4 separate regions of the Homo sapiens genome follow, and regions 1, 3 and 4 are each linked to region 2. The links are contacts of gene promoters, found by promoter capture Hi-C in blood cells and fetal thymus (Javierre and others, 2016). All regions are on one chromosome and are shown on one strand. Each heading gives the region's core, a stretch centred on a gene start or on the middle of the fragment in contact. The rest is flanking DNA. Distances are from core to core; before and after follow the strand shown.

Region 1 (2,978 bases), core at 41-2,540, 240 kb before region 2:
AAGGGAAGGAGTGGTTGGGAAGGAGCAAAGCAGGGGCAGAACCTGTGCCCCAGATGTGCCCCTCACCCTTCCCTAGGCTTCTCCTCTATCACATGGATGCCCCACTGTCCCTCCTGGATCTTCAACTTCCTTCCTTCCCTGGCTAAACTCACCTTAGCCATCAAGCAGGCTCAAAACTACCTCATCCCAAAGCATCTTCCCTTCATTCTATCTCTACCCCAAGTGGTATCTTTGCCCCCCATCTTTTTCTCACTACGCATCTTCTTGAAAGAGTGGCCACATCACTCCCCCTATTTCTTCAACTTCTTTTTACTATATAGCCTTTATATGGTATAAAATGCTGTCCTGTACCCTCTATGCCTCTAGCAAACCTAGTTTGTTTGGTTTTTTGAGACAGGGTCTTGCTCTGTTGCCCAGGTTGGAGTGCAATGGTGATGGTTCATTGCAGCCTCAAACTCCTGAGCAAAAGCCATCCTCCCACCTCAGCCTCCCGAGTACATGGGACCACAGACATGTGCCACCACACCTGGCTAATGTTTTTGTTTTTATTTTTTTAGAGATGGGGTCTCACTGCTGGTCTCAAACTCCTGGACTCAAATGATCCACCCACCTCAGCCTCCCAAAGTGCTGGGATTACAGGCATGAGCCACTGTACCTGGCCAAAACTACGCTTGGTAAGGGCAAACAGGAAGCCCTACTTCTTGAAATTCCCTACTACTGCCCTGCCTTCCAGAACTCCACTCACTCTGATGTTCTCCCCTGCCTCTGTGTCATCTCATTACAGAATCTCCCAAAGCTCTTTGAATTCTGGTGTTCCCCCACAGAGTCAACCTTGGCTCTCTTTTCATGTAGTACACCCTTGGGCATTCCCCTCTTCTGATATTTATATGACAATGTATCCCAAAGCTTTGTGTCCTGGCTAGTTTCCAGATCTTCTTTCACAACTGCCTCCTGGACATCTCCACCTGACTGTCCCACCAGTAACTTAGTATAGCATGTTCACAGTTATCTCATTATCTGCTTCTGCCTGTCTCCTGCTCACTTCTTAAATTCCCTCTATCAGGTACTGATGTAACAGTCCACCTTGTCCCTTCTGGATCATCTTCAAATCTTCTCTCTTTATCACCCCTTTCCTCAGTCAAAAGTCATGATGTTCAACTTATCCTACGTCAGGAATATTTTCTAGGTCATGTTTGTCCTCTTCATTCCCAACCTCTCACCTTAATTCATATCCTTATTATCTCTTGCCTAGACTATAGCAACAACTATCTAAGTGGTCTCTGCCAGTCTCTACCCACACTCCTACCAGTGCCCCAGTTTGCCACCAGAATTACCTTTCCAGAAAATAAATATGGCCACAATATTTCATGCTTAGAAATCCCTGCTGGCTGCCTACTAACCACAGTATGAAACTGAATGTTCTTTGTATGTTACACAACACTCATAGTGACTTGGCATGATTTTGCAGTCCACAACCAGCCATACCCTAAATGCTCTTGATGTTGTGGCACCACCATGTCCATGACCAGTGACCACAGTAACTAGCACACTTTCTTTTCCGGGCTCCATCCATTTGCACATGTTTCTTCTTCCACTTGGAATTCTCCCATCATCTCCTCTTTTCCTACACTCCCACTCATCCTGCAAGAGCCAGTTAACATGTCACCTTTTCCATGAAGCTTTTTAAACAACCCCAAGCAAGTCACGTAATTAATTTATCTATTCAACTAACATGCATTCACTAAATACTATGCAAGATTATGGAGATGTAGGGATTATAAAACAAAACCAAAACAAGAAGTGTCTTCCTTCATAGAGCTTATGGTCTAGTGACATAGACAGACAATAAACCAAATATATATATATATATATATATTTCAAATTGTAATAAGTGCCTTGAAGATGATGAATAGCACATAGTAATACAGAACCAAGGAATTTAGATAACCTGGTTTTCTATCCCTGTGGCCATGCCTTTCTTAAAATAATGTTATTCTTTTTTCAAAGCATCTGCTTAATTTACATGTCTAAACAGTTTCTGCTAGACCTTTAGTACATGAGTGATTTGTTTTATTCATTTTTACATACCTGACACATACAGGAATTTAATACGAATGTTTGATGATTAAATGAATGAATGAGTGATTTAATTAATGAACCAACTGTTTATAAGAGTCTGTTTAACTCTAAATTAGAAAATTCCACATGCAACTAGGTAAAGTACATTCCAGTTGCTCATGTGTTACCTGAAATCTCTAGTTTCATTAAATACCAGTTTACAAACATTAAATTCAGACACATATTTCATCTCTCCAAAATGGACTAGAACTAGTTTTAAGAGAATAAAATTTCAGCAATGGTGAGAGAAATAATACAATACAGGAATACTCAGTTTCCTTAAAAACTGGGATTCCATTATCACTTTTTGATCCAGCTAGGCCAAGTAAAAAACAAGAGGGATGTCAACAGTTCTGGAAATCAGCCTCCACTGGGGGCACAGTGGGATCTTTTCTAGCTAAGGCTGAGACTTGTTTGAAAATACAACACAGTTCAGAAGAAAACTTGGAAAGGGGTTATGCAAGGAATGGATGGACAGCTGCTGGCTGGTCCCGATGGAAGTTATGCTGGAAGCTCCGGATATGATATTCAACAGTTCTGCTGCCAAATGTGCAGACAAGCTCCCAGGACAAAAGTCACCAATAGCAAACCCTGGGAGCTGGAGAGAAAGAAAATGGATTCTGCTTGCCTTTTTGTCCTTCTTCTGGGGGCTGGGGGGAAGAAGAGCTATGCTATATGCTAGAGGGGCAATAGAGATCAATGGGGTTGGTGTGGGATAGGAAAGGATGGGCTAGGACAGCTTTGTGTGTGTGAAGGAGTTTGACAAACAAGAGCAATGATTGTATATGAGCTGATTTCTCATACAAACAAAGAGGCAATCCCCAAATCCTAAAAACTTCCTTTAAAACCACAGAATACTA
Region 2 (2,986 bases), core at 349-2,848:
AAACTACCTAATAATCTCACATACAGAAGACTGGTCCTAAGGTGAGACAAAGTCCCAAGTCATCAGATAAAGAGGAACTTATGTTCACAATTTGTCGTGGGCTTTGGAGTGAGGCAGACTCCAATGGAAAGCCCAGTTCTCCTTCTTCCTAGCAGAGACTTTAGGGAAATTACTTAAACCCACTGAACGTCAGGGTCCTCATCTGTAAAATCCTCATAGGATGGTTGGGAGGGTGATCAGGTAGGAACCATGGCTTTCTCTAAGCTGCCTTTTATTTGCTGACTTTTGAGAGGGGACGTCTTACTCAGGCACAGTCACATGTGCCTGTAGCCCTAGCTACTTTGGAGGCCAAGGCAGGAGGATAGTTTGAGTCCAGGAGTTCAAGACTGCAGTGTGCTGTAACTGTGCCTATGAATAGCCACTGCTTAGGCAACACAGTGAAACCCCATCTCTAAAAGAAAAAAAAAAAAAGACCAGACATCTTAGAAAGATTCTTCAAATCCTAACCCTAGTTAGACATTAGACATTGAATGCCTCTCCTAGACTTGACTAATGGAGAAAAAATGCCTTTAAGTGTTTCATCTGTTTCATCTTACTCATTCCTCAGAACATTCTGCTGACATCAACAGCCTCCAGGCCTTTGCACATGCATGTCTTTCTTTATGAAATACACACACACATGCACACATGTCTCTACACCCTGCTTATTCTATAAATCCATATTCATCCTTCAACTTCTTGCTCAAGTATCACTTCTATTTTAAAATTTCCCAGACACCACAGCCTGCCCCAACTCACCCATTCTCACTGCAGTGACGGCTCCCAGAACCTGAACAAACCACAAGTCTGATCTTGCCGCACTGTGATGACTGATCTTCTGGTTTCTCCCCAACAACCATGGGTTCCCCAAAAAGCAATACTTTGTAACCCTAGCACTTGCTATCATGCCTAATGTCTAGCAAGTACGCACAATTTGTTGCGTTAATATATTCCACATGTAGCTTCTTCTCCGAGAAAACACCAAATGGCGGATGACGCCGGCGCAGCCGGCATTGGGTTGCGGGGGGAGTCCCGGAGGCCCCGGGGCCCTGGGATGGGGAACCATGGTGGCTTCCGTGGAGGTTTCGGCAGTGGCATCCGAGGCCGGGGTCACTGCCGTGGACCAGGCTGGGGCCGAAGCCACGGAGCTCGCGGAGGCAAGGCCAAGGATAAGGAGTGGATGCCCGTCAGCAAGCTGGGCTGCCTGGTCAAGCACATGAAGATCACTTCCCTGGAGGAGATCTGTCTCTTCTCCCTGCCCATCACGGAATCTGAGATCATTGATTTTTTCCTGGGGGGCCTCTCTCGAGGCCTAGGTTTTGAAGATTATGCCGGTGCAGAAGCAGACCGGAGCCGGCCAGCGAACCAGGTTCAAGGCGTTTGTGGCCATTGCGGGCTACAACGGTCACGTCGGTCTGGGTGTTAAGTGCTCCAAGGAGGTGGCCACTGCCATCCACAGGGCCATCATCCTGGCCTAGCTCTCCATTGTCCCCATGCGCAGAGGTTACTAGGGGAACAAGATCGGCAAGCCCTACACCATCCGTTGCAAGGTGACGGGCTGCTGCGGCTCCGTGCTCGTGCGCCTCATCCGCGTGCCCAGAGGCACCGGTATCGTCTCGGCGCCTGTGCCCAAGAAGTTGCTCATGATGGCTGGTATCGATGACTGCTACACCTCAGCCAGGGGCTGCACTGCCACTCTGAGCAACTTCGCCAAGGCCACCTTTGATGCCATCTCTAAGACCTACAGCTACCTGACCCCTGACCTCTGGAGGACGGCTGTATTCACCAAGTGTCCCTATCAAGAATTCACTGACCACCTCGCCAAGACCCACACCAGAGTCTCCGTGCAGAGGACCCAGGCTCCAGCTGTAGCTACAACATAGGGTTTTTATACAAGAAAAAGAAAGTTAATTAAGCCTGTAAAATATACATACATATATGTGTGTGTATATATACATATTATATATGTATATATGTGTGTGTATATACATTATATATATGTATATATGTGTGTATATATACATATATACGTATATATGTGTGTATATATACATATATACGTATATATGTGTGTATATATACATATATACGTATATGTGTCTATATACATATATACGTATATGTGTGTGTATACATATATACGTATGTATGTGTGTATACATATATACGTATGTGTGTGTATACATATATACGTATGTATGTGTGTATACATCTATACGTATGTATGTGTGTGTATACATCTATACGTATGTATGTGTGTATACATATATACGTGTATACGTATACACATATGTATATGTGTATACATATACACATATATGTGTATGTATGTGTATACATATACACATATATGTGTATGTATGTGTATACATATACACATATATGTGTATGTATGTGTATACATATACACATATATGTGTATGTATGTGTATACATATACACATATATGTGTATGTATGTGTATACATATACACATATATGTGTATGTATGTGTATACATATACACATATATGTGTATGTATGTGTATACATATACACATATATGTGTATGTATGTGTATATGTATGTATATATACACATATACATACATGCATGTATATATGTATGTATATGTATACATATATACATACATTGTATATACGTATACATATACACACATATATGTATATACGTATACATATACACACATATATGTATATACGTATACATATACACACATACATACATATATACACATACATACATATATACACATACATACATACATATATGTATATGTGTATATATACATATATGTGTATATATTCCAACTGTAAAATATACATATATGTGTGTATATATATATTCCACCTGTAATATATATATACATTCCACCTGTAAAATATAAAATTATGACACTGATTTTTAAAGTGTTATATAACTTACTCATACTGTTGTTTTCAAAAGC
Region 3 (3,007 bases), core at 62-2,561, 200 kb before region 2:
GCATAAAATATCAACATTTTATTTGATTAGTACCTAAGCATTATCATATCTTTTTATAAAATTGGGCTCATGTCATACACAATATGTCATCACATTTCTACGTAACGTATTATAAATAATTTTCCATGGCTTTGAAGTGCTCTACAGCATCATTTTTCATGTCTTCACAATATTCAACATGAATGAACTATATCTGGTTTAATCAATTCTTGTACATACATCATTGTGCATGTCCCTAAAGTGGAAGAAAACTGTGGAGATTGAAAATAGGCTTTTGACTCATTCAGACCTGGATTCAAATCCTGTCTATACCACTTGCTGGATGTAACTTTAACCACATTTACTAAATTTTTCTAGATCTCATGTTTCTCACACACAGATAAGGCGATAATAATATCTTCCTTACTGAGTTATTGTGAGAACAAAATTGTATATATAAATTGTTTTGGTGCCTGGCACACAGCAATTGATAGCCTTGATTATTTTCTTAGAACACATTTCTAAAAGTAGAACTTTCGGGTGAAAGTGTATAACCATTTTGAAATTTCTTGAGGTACACTGCACTATAGAAAGAGTGTATAAATTTCACTGAAAAGAGGGAGTCAGGAAGAAGTTTTTTAAAAAATTAAACTTGTTTTGAGCCTTGTGTACCCAACGCAATAATGGGCTCATTCAGTAAAACAGACATGAAACAATACCCTCTCTAATCTATAATTGTTATAACCTGGCTCTTCCCCAGCCTTCTGTCCACCGGCTTTATTGCCCCCTGCTTCTAAAAGTGTCTTAGTTGAGTCTTCCCAGATTCTCCACAGCTTACTCCAGGGAAGCTCTCTTTAAGACTCTTCTCTACTGAAGACTTCCGGTGCTCCTTCACTTTGCACTGCTGGAGACTTCTGCAATCTCTGTAACATGCTCATGCTAAATCCTCCATCAGACTGCAAACTCCTGAAGTCCAGGGACCAAGGCTATGTTATGAAAATGAAATTGCTTTTGATTCTTTGGCTAACCACCCAAATCAGAACTGTTCAGGAAGATCTAAGATGTGGAAAAGTCGTACATACAGAATCTACCTTATAGGTGAGAAAATCTGGACTCTGGGAGGGAACATGCCCTTCCCAAGAGCACACACCAAGCAATGGAGCCTCGTTCCTGTCTCTCCACCTTACTGCTATCACCTCCAGCTGCCTCCCACCAGTTTCATGTTTTATTGCTCAATCTAAGCCCTGTGTTATCCGCTACACTATCTCAATTTGAAAAATCTTGCCCTTGACTCTTGCTTTTGTGCAGCCTACTGCCCTACTGTCAGTCCAGATCATTTCTGCATATGGACATCACACACACTCCCACCCACCACTCTTCCTTGAACTGGGGGAGGTAACAGAATCTGCGCCCACCCCGGCATTCCTGCACATCCTGAACATAAAAGCAGTTGTGAAACATGCAGAATCCTCCCCGATTTATTTCTTTTTACCTTACATCCCTTCCACTTTGATGTCAGTAGAATATTTGAAAGAAAAGAATCTAACGTGACCTACTACCCTGGAATGCCAAGAAAAACAATTACCAGGTCGATGGAGCTCAGGGAGCAGCTGGTGGACATGAATGAATGGGGCAAAAATAGTTTGTTTTCTAAACTCGTTCCACCTCAGGGTTGACCATCAGGTCTTTTGCTGGAGGCCGCCCAGAGCTCCCCACTTTCTGAACCTCAGTGACCCACAATCCATTCCTAAAAGGGAGAGCCTCCTGTCTTTCTCTCAGTTCCCTCAGGCTCTTAGCAGGACTCAATAAGAGCCCCAGAAATTTCCCAGAAGTAGGTGGATTTAAAAACACTTAAAATTGTAAGGGTGGGTGGTGGAGTCAGGTGGGAAGAAGCGAGTAGAGTTGGAAGGAGGATCTGCCCTCTTCTTAGGCCAGCTACAGAGTGATGCTAAATTGCTTAGGGGGGTAGTGAAGGTCACACGGAGCTCAGTTCTATCCTGCCCAGACCCCCAGAGCCTGTGATGACCAACATCTCCCCAGTTGTAGTGATTATCACAACTGGGCCCTTTTGTACAGCAGGATGGTGCTGTGGGGGATGAAGATCAATGTGGGCTTTGGAAAGGGCTATGTGGTGGTGCATAAGAATTTGATCCTTATTATGGCCAACAAGGCCAATCTTAATGTGGCCCTTCCTCCCCTCCCTGTCTTCCTCTTGCAGCAGTCAGTGGTCACTGATACTTTCTGCTCTACAAGCTACTTTCTGCCACAGGGCATTTACACTTGCTGTTACCCCTGTCTATATGGCATGCTGAACTTAGCACCACAAGTATGTACCAACGAACCTGCATAAAATATGATGGACCTATTACTGGTATTACCTGTCCTGCCTGTGGGCATTACTACACACACACACATACACACACACACACACACATACACATACACACACACACACCCTCACATCTCTGAGTGTATCTGCTATATCTTAGCATTACTAGTCCCTTCTCTTCATTCACATCTCTGATTGGCTGACTCCTCCTCAGAAAAGTCTTTCCTGGCTACTCTCTAAAATAGCAATCTCCCTCCCCCAGTCTATGCATCCTCTCTCTCCTTACCTTGAATCATTTTCTTTATCATGTAGTCTGCCTAAAGTAGAATTACTTACTTATGAGTTTGTTTTCGCTTCTATTCCTGCCCCAGATTCTAAACTCTATGAGAGCAGAAAATTATTTTACTCATTGATGAATCCCAAAGCCTAGAACAAAACCTGACTTATAGTAGGCACTGAATATGATATGCATTTATAATCAGTGACTAAAAGAACTTCCAGGAGTACTTTTGATTCATAAGGAAGAATTTTATGTAAACTGGGAGAGGTTTAATAGCTGAATCTGTCTCCCCTCTTCCCACTGAGTTCTTTGACTTTATTTTAATGGGTCAGAGTTTCCGTGGACTTAGTGCCTGAGTGGTTTCTACAGAGCTGGGGCACCCCCAAAAGCCAGGGCTCTTCCAGTATGAATGATGGAGG
Region 4 (2,915 bases), core at 140-2,639, 150 kb before region 2:
CAGTGACTCAATAAATGCTCATGATTGAATTGAGAAGAATAAAAGGGGTCCATTCTGCTGAGAGATGTTGAAATCACAGCCAGGGCTGAACTGCTAAAACTACAAGGAAGGCCCCCTTTTGGTCACAGTCTCCTGGACCATGAGGAGTTGTCAGTTCTTCAGGACTGCTCAGCCTGAGGACACATGCAATGAAGGCCCTGCCTGAGGGACGTCTGCAGAGACCATTCAAACCCTTTGGCAAGCACGCATTATGGACCTGCTGAGTGCTGGTTCTGCTCCAGGAGCAGCCTGGGTGAAACCATGTAAGATGGCTGGAAAGGCCTTGGAGAGGAAGAACACTTACCTGAGAGCTGGGTGGGGCAACCAAGTTGATTCCTGGAGGCGCTGCAAGTGCTCCTGAGGGTGGGCCCATGGCAGAGGTGATGACTCGATATGGAGAGCCCAGGGCATTGAGGGGGGTCCCCACTGCACTCAGAGTCCGTGGGGCACTCACTGGGGTATCTGTGTAGCTGGGGTGGCTGTCCATTGGCTTCCCTGTGGACAAGGCTGCTGATGGGCTCATGGATGTAGAGCCAGTGTGGCCAGGGGAGCCTGTAAGAAGAAGAATATAGATGGTGGGAGGTTGGGGAACATGGAAAGGGGCCCTGGGGGACAGAGGCCTAGCCCCACCTTTCTTTCCTGTATCCTGCCCCTCTTTTAGCCACACCTACACACCTGTAAGCCCTAGGTGCTCTCACCTACACTACCCTGGTGGTATAAAGACAAGCGAGGGACACAGAGGGGAGAGGGCCTGCTCTAGGACAGAAATAAGCATGGATGTTCTCTGGGGCCCAGCTTGGAATCCACTCTGGACTATGCTGGATCCACAGCCAGTGCAACAAGGGGCACAGTCCAGAAGACCCCAGCCTGAGTGACTGAGGCCTGGGCCAGCCAGCCAGGGAAGGTGAGTCTATACCAAACCTCGATGGGGAGAGTGAGTAGGTTCCCAGGCTGCTCCATAATTCCCTGACTAGAACTCATATTGCTCTGATAATCAGGGCAGGGCTGAGATTCATTCATTTATATGCAACAAACATTTATTAGGGTGCCAGGTGCTGGGGATTCAGAGCAGAAGAGCACACAGTCGCTGACATCAGGAGTCACATTCCATAATAATGATGGGGAAGGCAGTGGCTGTTGTCATACCCCCAGTTTCCTATATCTATTGAAGCTTTATGTACATGATGTTCTTTTCCTGTCCCTCTCTATAGTACAGGGTTAATTAGCACTCAGGGGAGAAGACTTGGAATGGCTAGGCATGGCTTTATGGCCACAGAGGCCCAGGTAGCACAGGAAGGCAAATGCAGACCAGACTGCCGAGACCATTTCTGCCTCCAAGAATAGAATGCTGCAGCCAAAAGTGTCTGTGGAACAGGGTCTGGGTGAGGAGGTCATCAGTATCACTTTCTTCCAATAAATTGAACCCACATTCCCCTGTAGTCAGTAGCAAACTCGAGATGAAACAGGAGAGTGCCCTCCTGTCATCTTGGGAGCCCCGCATGGAACATTCTCTCCAGAAGAGAGGAGCTATAAGCTTTAGGATCTGTAGCAGCAAAGCAGAGACTAGAAAACACCACAGGGCACCCCACCGTGGATCCCATCACTAGATCCCTGTGCAGCTAGCATGCAAGAACAGATGTGAAGAAGCCATGTGCACAGTAGCTGCACGCAGCACATCCATGGCACCCAAGCTGTCCACATGGATAGAAAGGGAGAGGATTAAGTGCTCAGTAAGCACAGTCTGCTGGAGAAGCTACCCCATTCTCAGATGCCTACTGTGGGTCAGACACCTTGCCAAGCAGATGGGATAAGAAGTGGAGGAAGTCATATGCCTGACTTTATGTGGCTCATTATTCATCCAACAAATATTTCTTGAGTGCCTACTACATGCAAGGCACTGTCCTAAGCCTTTGGGCAACATCAGTGGGTGCTAAGTGTAATGTCAGGAGTAGGATGCTAGGAGAAACTGGCTTCTTTCAAGTTCTGGTAGAGAGCAGGAAGTGTCAGAAATATAACTGTGAAACTATTCTTAAACGTAAATATTCCACTGGAAAAAATGTCAACCTGCAGTTTCTCTTGGAGCTTCTGCTAGCTTAGTTGAGGGCTACTTGTGGAAGGAAGTCACTCCAAGGAAGCTGTGACCCTCTTGTCATTCTACGTATGGAGCTTTGGTCTATCAGGGACAATTGCCTCATAAACAGATAAGTCCCAATACCCCATGTCCTAAGTACCACAATCAAGGAGAAAACACATGCTGTGGGCCCACAGGGGCATGGCAAAGTGGTTAAAATTAATAACTCAAACATTTATTATGTGTCCTCAATAGCATCAGGCAGTTTCCATAACTCTTTATCCTGACAATAAGCCTATGAAAATCATTTCAGCCTTTTGCAGATGAGAAAACTTAGGCTCCATCTAACCCCATACCATTTCCAGTTCCAGGATGACTTACCCCTGCCTCCATTGTCTAGAAGCTCTTATTCAACCTTCAAGGTCTAACTCAAGTGCCACCTCCTCCACAAAGCTTTTCCTGGTGTTCCTGGTCTGGTTTCCTGCCCTTTTTTTATTTCCTAAAACTGTCTGTTCCTACTTGTATCTTAGCATTTGTTATACTGTATCACTATATTTGTTTATTCCCTGTCTTTCCCACTAAACAAAAAGGAAAAAACCATGTCCAGTTTTGTTTCTCCATCTCTATCAGATTACCTGGCACTGCCCAGGTAGTTAGTGGCAAAGCCTTGATTCAAATTGCCAATCTGAAACCCACGCTCTCCTCTGTGTTTGTTATCAAGGACAGCAAAGATGATTGGAGAGCCATCTGCACCAAGAGTACAAGATGACTCAATTATGAAGTGATCTCAAGCTGAAAGTTCATC

What was found. The method cuts DNA at HindIII sites, captures the fragments that hold promoters and counts their contacts. A CHiCAGO score of 5 or more calls a contact.
Region 1: a fragment that was not itself captured here is called in contact with the fragment with the promoter of LRRC52-AS1 in region 2 in 1 of 17 cell types (activated CD4 T cells); the score reaches 6.3 in activated CD4 T cells.
Region 3: a contact is called between a fragment that was not itself captured here and the fragment with the promoter of LRRC52-AS1 in region 2, in 9 of 17 cell types (total CD4 T cells, activated CD4 T cells, total CD8 T cells and 6 more). The highest score is 10.6, in total CD4 T cells.
Region 4: a fragment that was not itself captured here is called in contact with the fragment with the promoter of LRRC52-AS1 in region 2 in 1 of 17 cell types (naive CD8 T cells); the score reaches 6.0 in naive CD8 T cells.

The regions. Positions count from the first base shown.
Region 1 is chr1:165,339,736-165,342,713 of GRCh38, forward strand. The region is part of intron 3 of LMX1A (LIM homeobox transcription factor 1 alpha); the gene reads right to left. Among named protein-coding and RNA genes, the nearest start is that of LMX1A, 15 kb to the right of the region's middle. The HindIII fragment of the contact is 773 bases long and covers 905-1,677 here.
Region 2 is chr1:165,580,557-165,583,542 of GRCh38, forward strand. It overlaps LRRC52-AS1 (LRRC52 antisense RNA 1), which reads right to left and starts at 1,599. Exons shown (of 7, transcript NR_026744.2): 1 at 799-1,599. It also overlaps the pseudogene RPS2P10. The HindIII fragment of the contact is 5,029 bases long and covers 1-2,986 here.
Region 3 is chr1:165,378,928-165,381,934 of GRCh38, forward strand. No RefSeq gene overlaps it. Among named protein-coding and RNA genes, the nearest start is that of LMX1A, 24 kb to the left of the region's middle. The HindIII fragment of the contact is 3,600 bases long and covers 1-3,007 here.
Region 4 is chr1:165,428,376-165,431,290 of GRCh38, forward strand. RXRG (retinoid X receptor gamma) reads right to left here. Exons shown (of 10, transcript NM_006917.5): 2 at 344-591. Among named protein-coding and RNA genes, the nearest start is that of RXRG, 15 kb to the right of the region's middle. The HindIII fragment of the contact is 363 bases long and covers 1,209-1,571 here.